Linked DNA regions of Homo sapiens: region 1 is linked to region 2. Evidence: promoter capture Hi-C in human tissues and cell types (Jung and others, 2019). All regions are on one chromosome and are shown on one strand. Each heading gives the region's core, a stretch centred on a gene start or on the middle of the fragment in contact. The rest is flanking DNA. Distances are from core to core; before and after follow the strand shown. Region 1 holds the start of FUT6 (fucosyltransferase 6). Region 2 holds the start of ACSBG2 (acyl-CoA synthetase bubblegum family member 2).

Region 1 (2,716 bases), core at 209-2,708, 300 kb after region 2:
GATCACATCGATGGAATGACTAGAGCCCTACTGTCCCTCACTAGAGACCTACCTTTGGATTTTGAATCCTTAAGAAACAACCCAGCTGGGGGCGGGGCGTGGTGGCTCACGCCTGTAATCCCAGCACTTTGGGAGGCCGAGGCGGGCGGATCACAAGGTCAGGAGATCGAGACCATCCTGGCTAACATGTCTCTACTAAAAATACAAAAAAAAAAAAAAAAATTAGCTGGGCGTGATGGCGGACGCCTGTAGTCCCAGCTACTTGGGGCAGGAGAATGGCGTGAACCCAGGAGGCAGAGCTTGCCATGAGCCGAGATCGTGCCACTGCACTCCAGCCTGGGCCACAGAGCGAGACTCTGTCTCAAAAAAAAAAAAGAAAAAAAACCCAGCTGGGCGGAGTGGCTCATGCCTGGCCTCTAATCCCAGTACTTTAGGAGGCTGAGGCAGACAGATCACCTGAAGTCAGGAGGTCAAGATCAGCCTGGCTAACATGGCGAAAACCAGCTCTATTAAAAAAATACGAAAGTTACCCAGTGCCGTGTCACGCGCCTGTAGTCCCAGCTACTCGGGAGGCTGGGGCATGAGAATCGCTTGAGCCCGGGAGGCATAGGTTACAGTAAACTGAGACTGTGCCACTGCACTCCAGCCCGAGTGACAGAGCAAGATTCCATCTCAAAAAAAAGAGAGAGATAGGGGTATCTCTGTTTTCCCTAGGCTGGTCTCAGACTCCTGGGCTCAAGCGATCTTCCTGCCTCTCCTTCCCAAACTGTTGGGATTACAGGTGTGAGTCACTGTGCATGGCCTCAGAAGTCTTTTTTTTTTTTTTTTTTTTTTTTGAGACAGAGTCTTGCACTGTCGCCCAGGCTGGAGTGCAGTGGCTCAATCTAGGCTCACTGCAAGCTCCGCCTCCCGGGTTCACACCATTCTCCTGCCTCAGCCTCCCAAGTAGCTGGGACTACAGGCACCCACTACCACGCCTGGCTAATTTTTTTGTATTTTTAGTAGAGACAGGGTTTCACCATGTTAGTCAGGATGGATGGTCTTGATCTTCTGATCTCGTGATCTGCCCACCTCGGCCTCCCAAAGTGTTGGGATTACAGGCGTGAGCCACCACGCCCGGCCCCCAGAAGTCATTTTTTTAATAAGTTACAGTCAACCTCACCAGTCAAGGAATGAGACATGAGTGGAATTAGGTTGCCACTTCTGGAGCTCTGGGAGACCCCAACCCCCTGGCCCATCCCTACCTCCCAGAACCTCACTGGTCTGGGCGTGGCTGGGCACTGAGATAGTAGAACTCAGGCAGCATGATGCAGCCTCCCAGAAATGATTTCTAGAACAGGGCAGTCGTGATACTTGGAGGCTGGGCTTTGAGCTCGGTCACCTTTGCACCCAGCTTGGGAGTGAGAGAGTTTAAGGTCATCCTCCCTCAAAACCAGTATTCCAGATCATTTCTCTCCATTCCAGGAAGTTTGCATAGCTCCCTGGACTTCTGCTTTGCACTGCCCTGCAGGAGTGGGTGGGGAAAGGAAGTGGCTTTGAGGCACACAGAGGGGCTTGTTGAGGCCACCGGAGGAAGCTTCTGCCACCAATATGGGACCTGTGCCCAGCCTACCAGAAGAGAGCATCTGAAAACATGTATCGACATGGTAACCCCTCTGCTTGAAGCCTCACATGGCTCCCTATTGCCTTGGTGCTGAACACCCTATGGCTGACCGTGGCCCAGCCTCTGCAACAGCTCTGCCTCCTCTCCAGTGGTGAAGACCCAGCCTGCTGAGACTCCTCCTGCAGTTCCTCAACATGCCTGCATTTCTGCTGCCTCAGGGCCTTTGCGAAGGTTGTTCCTTGTAACTGGAATGCCCTTCCATCCCTTTTTTATTCAAAAGGCTGCAATTTTAATTGAAGAAAGTTCCCTTCCAAGGTTCATGAGTTGCCTGACTTGCCCACCGGTTTCCTGCAAGATCCCTTGGCCTGGCACTTAGTGCTCAGGAAATATTTGGTGATGGGCCAACTGAGTGAGAAGGTGGGATCTGGTGGGAAGGAAAGCGGAAAGGTAGAAATTCTGCTCACTTCCTCATTCCCACCTCCCAAGGAACCCCTGGTGTCCCTGTGGAACCCGCTTTGGGAACCGGTGGTTCAGGTCAGCCTTTTCACTTTGTACTCAAAGCCACATCGCATTGAAGCCACAGGTGGGGCAAGGTCATGCATGACCTGAGTCTCCAAATCCCTTCACCCTGTTTGGTTCTGCAACGGGGATTAGGGGAGCCCCACGATTTGTTTTCAAAGGATGTCCGGGCTCCAGGACAGGATGCCCTGGGTCACCTGATGACAGGTGTGGTGGTTGGAAAGGGCCTGGTTTCAGCTCCGGGTACACTTCCTCCTTCCTTCTGCTGCGTGGTGTGGCCTCTTCCACGTCCTCAGAATCCAGCTGTTACTCCGTCCGCGGCCTCTCAGCTCTAGGGCCCTCTGCACACTGGCCCCCCCAGGTAAGGCCTCTTGTCCCACTTTCACCCCCAACCCGGATCGCATGGGTCCAGGGAAAGGCCTCCTGGCTCCGAGCCTCCTCCCCTCAGCCTCAGTCCTGTCTGCTGTAATTCAGAGTGCGGGTGGGCTGGCACAAGATCCCTGGGGGAGGGTCTGCAGGCTGTGCAGTGGCCTGGCATTTGGCCAGCAGCCCCTAGTCGCAGGCAGGGGTCTTTCTGGATGCACCGAGGTGGGC
Region 2 (3,124 bases), core at 52-2,551:
GGGCTACAAATCCTGGACAAGATGCTCAGTAGCTTTGGTCATCAGGGAACTGCACGTTAAAAATCACACGATCGGCCGGGTGCGGAGGCTCACACCTGTGATCCCAGCACTTTGGGAGGCCGTGGCAGGTGGATCACTTGAGCTCAGGAGTTCTCTACAGAGGACTTGTAAGTTACTAGTAATATTCGATTTCACGAAGTGAAAAGGGCACACAGATATTTATCGTTATTCATTAAATCGTACAGATATGCTTTGTGTTATTTTATATGCATTATATGTTTCACAATTTTAAAAGGCCATGTAGGGTTCAGATGTGGTGACTCACACCTGTAATCCCAGCACTTTGGGAGGCTGAGTCGGGTGGATCGCTTGAGGCCAGGAGTTCGAGACCAGCCTGGCTGGCATGGTGAAACCCCATCTCTACTAAAAATACAAAAATTAGCTGGGCATGGTGGCGCGTGCCTATAATCCCAGCACTTTGAGAGGTCGAGGCGGGTGGATCACCTGAGGTCAGAAGTTCAAGACCAGCCTGGCTGGTATGGCGAAACCCCATCTCTACTAAAAATATAAAAATTAGGCCGAGTATGGCGGCTCACGCCTGTAATCCCAGCACTTTGGGAGGCCAAGGCGGGTGGATCACGAGGTCAGGAGATTGAGACTATCCTGGCTAATGTGGTGAAACCCCATCTCTACTAAAAAATACAAAAAATTAGCCGGGCATGGTGGCAGGCACCTGTAGTCCCAGCTACTCAGGAGGCTGAGGCAGGAGAATGGTGTGAACCTGGGAGGCGAAGCTTGCAGTGAGCCGAGATTGCGCCTGGGCAACAGAGCAAGACTCTGTCTCAAAAAAAAAAAAAAAATTAGCTGGACATGGTGGCAGGCGCCTGTAATCTCAGCTACTTGGGAGGTTGAGGTGGGAGTATCACTTGAGCCTGGGAGGCAGAGGTTGCAGTGAGCTGAGATCGTGCCACTGCACTATAGCCTGGGCAAAAGAGTGAGACCCTGTCTCAAAAAAAAAAGAAAAGAAAACGCATGCCCTTCTCCCATACCACTGGCACCTGTCACTCTTCAAGAGGTGTGGTTCTGGCCATCTGGCAAGGCACCTGGAGCTGGGACATCTGGTCACTCAGGTGTTTTCTTCTTCCTGCAAAGACAGTCAACAGGTAGCCCCTCCTGGAAACCTGAACATGAGCTGCCCCTTCCCAGCCCCCGTCACCCTCTCCGTCCAGCCAGGATGATGGTGGTGGTGGGAGGCAGGAGGATGGGTGGTTTCCCTCCACAACAGGCCTTCTACCCCATTCAACCTTCCAGAACGTTCCATCCCAGCCACCTCTTGTGACATCACTGGCTGCCCCTGCCTCCGCACCCCACCCCCACCCCTAGGGGAAGCTGCTTCCAGGACAGGGAGATTGCTCTTTTCATGCATCATTCATTTATTCATGCATGCATGCACTTCTGCGTTGCATTCGTGACGTTTTTATGAAGCCATGACCCTAATGGCAGGGATTGTGCTGGATGCTGGAGACATAAAGATGAACAAAGCCAGATGAGGCCTGTTCAAGAAAATAAGAGGAGGCCTAGAATCACACAAACAAATGCAAACTTACCATTGTGAAGAGAGCCCCAAGGCATGTTGAGGGCTTGATCAAAGGATCCCGCCCAGGCAGGGAGTCTGGGAGTGGTTTCTTTCTTTTCTTTCGTTTTTTGAGACGGGAGTCTTGCTCTGTCACCCAGGCTGGAGTGCAATGGTGCGATCTCAGTTCACTGCAACGTCTGCCTCCCAGGTTCAAGCGATTCTCCTGCCTCAGCCTCCCGAGTAGCTGGGATTACAGGCGCCCGCCACCACGCCCGGCTAATCTTTTGTATTTTTAGTACAGACGGGGTTTCGCCATGTTGGCCAGGCTGGTCTCAAACTCCTGACCTTGTGATCCGCCCGCCTTGGCCTCCCAAAGTGCTGAGATGACAGGCGTGAGCCACCGCGCCTGGCCTGGGAGTGGTTTCTTGAGCTGGGATCTGAAGTATGCCTGGATGTTATTCCTGCCCTCGTGACTTTCTCTTACGCTGCCTGTCTTCATGTGTTTACAGCGGCCTCCCCCTTCTCGTTCTCTGCTTTAGTCACTGCTAACAATGTCCACTACCAGGCACAGTGGCTTGTGCCTGGAATCCCAGCACTTTGGGAGGCCAAGTCCGTAGCATCACTTGAGGCCAGGAGTTCAAAACCAGCCTGGGCAATGTAGTAAGACCCCGTCTCTACAGAAAAATTTAAAAAATTAGCCGGGCGTGGTGGTGCGCAAGTGTAACCACAGCTAGTAGGGAGGCTGAGGTGGGGGGATTGTTTGAGCCCAGGAGTTCCAGGCTGCAGTGAGCTGTGATGGTACCATGGCACTCCAGCCAGGCCTACAGAGCAAGACCTTGTCTCAAAACAAAAAAGACAAAACAGTGCCAGGTGCAGCACATACTAGATGCTCAGTAAATAAAGATGTAGCAACAGAATCTTGTGCTGTGCCAGGAGAAAAGGACAAGGAGTGTTCCTTTGTCTCCAGGGCCTTTTGTGTGTGTGTGTGAGAGAGAGAGAGAGACGGAGTTTGGCTCTTGTTGCCCAGACTGGAGTGCAATAGCGTGATCTTGGCTCACTGCAACCTCTGCCTCCCGGGTTCAAGCGATTCTCCTGCCTCAGCCTCCCAAGTAGCTGAGGTTACAGGCATGCACCACCACTCCCGACTAATTTTCTGTATTTTTAGTAGAGATGGGTTTTCACCATGTTGGCCAGGCTGGTCTCCACCTCGTGGCCTCAGGTGATCCACCCGCCTCAACCTTCCATGGTGCTGGGATTACAGGTGTAGCCACCGCACCTGGCCACCAGGGCCTTCTTAATGTTTCACAAATATCTACTCTGCAGAGCACCTGGGCAGCTGTGCCAGGACAGCCAGTGTCCACCAATGTCCATTCAGCCCTTCTTCCCCAGAGCTCTCACCTAAAGAGAGAGAATGTTTCCCAGGCCCCCTGACTGCATGGCGTGTCCATGTGACTACATCCTGCCCTGTGGGATGTGGGCATAAGTGGTGGGGGCCATGCCTGGTCATGCCTATAAAGGAAAGGAGGTGACACCCTTCCCCAACCCCCC

Evidence for each region. Contacts are between HindIII fragments. The study calls those that stand out against the background at their distance.
Region 1: a contact is called between the fragment with the promoter of FUT6 here and the fragment with the promoter of ACSBG2 in region 2, in 1 of the 25 tissues and cell types used here (stomach).

Annotation. Positions count from the first base shown.
Region 1 is chr19:5,838,444-5,841,159 of GRCh38, reverse strand. FUT6 (fucosyltransferase 6) reads left to right here and starts at 1,458. Exons shown (of 3, transcript NM_000150.4): 1 at 1,458-2,483. The HindIII fragment of the contact is 16,612 bases long and covers 1-2,716 here.
Region 2 is chr19:6,133,844-6,136,967 of GRCh38, reverse strand. ACSBG2 (acyl-CoA synthetase bubblegum family member 2) reads right to left here and starts at 1,301. Exons shown (of 15, transcript NM_030924.5): 1 at 1,059-1,301. All of the region lies in intron 3 of LOC105372255 (a long non-coding RNA gene), which reads left to right. RefSeq lists enhancers at 531-1,433, 1,434-2,337. The HindIII fragment of the contact is 13,898 bases long and covers 1-3,124 here.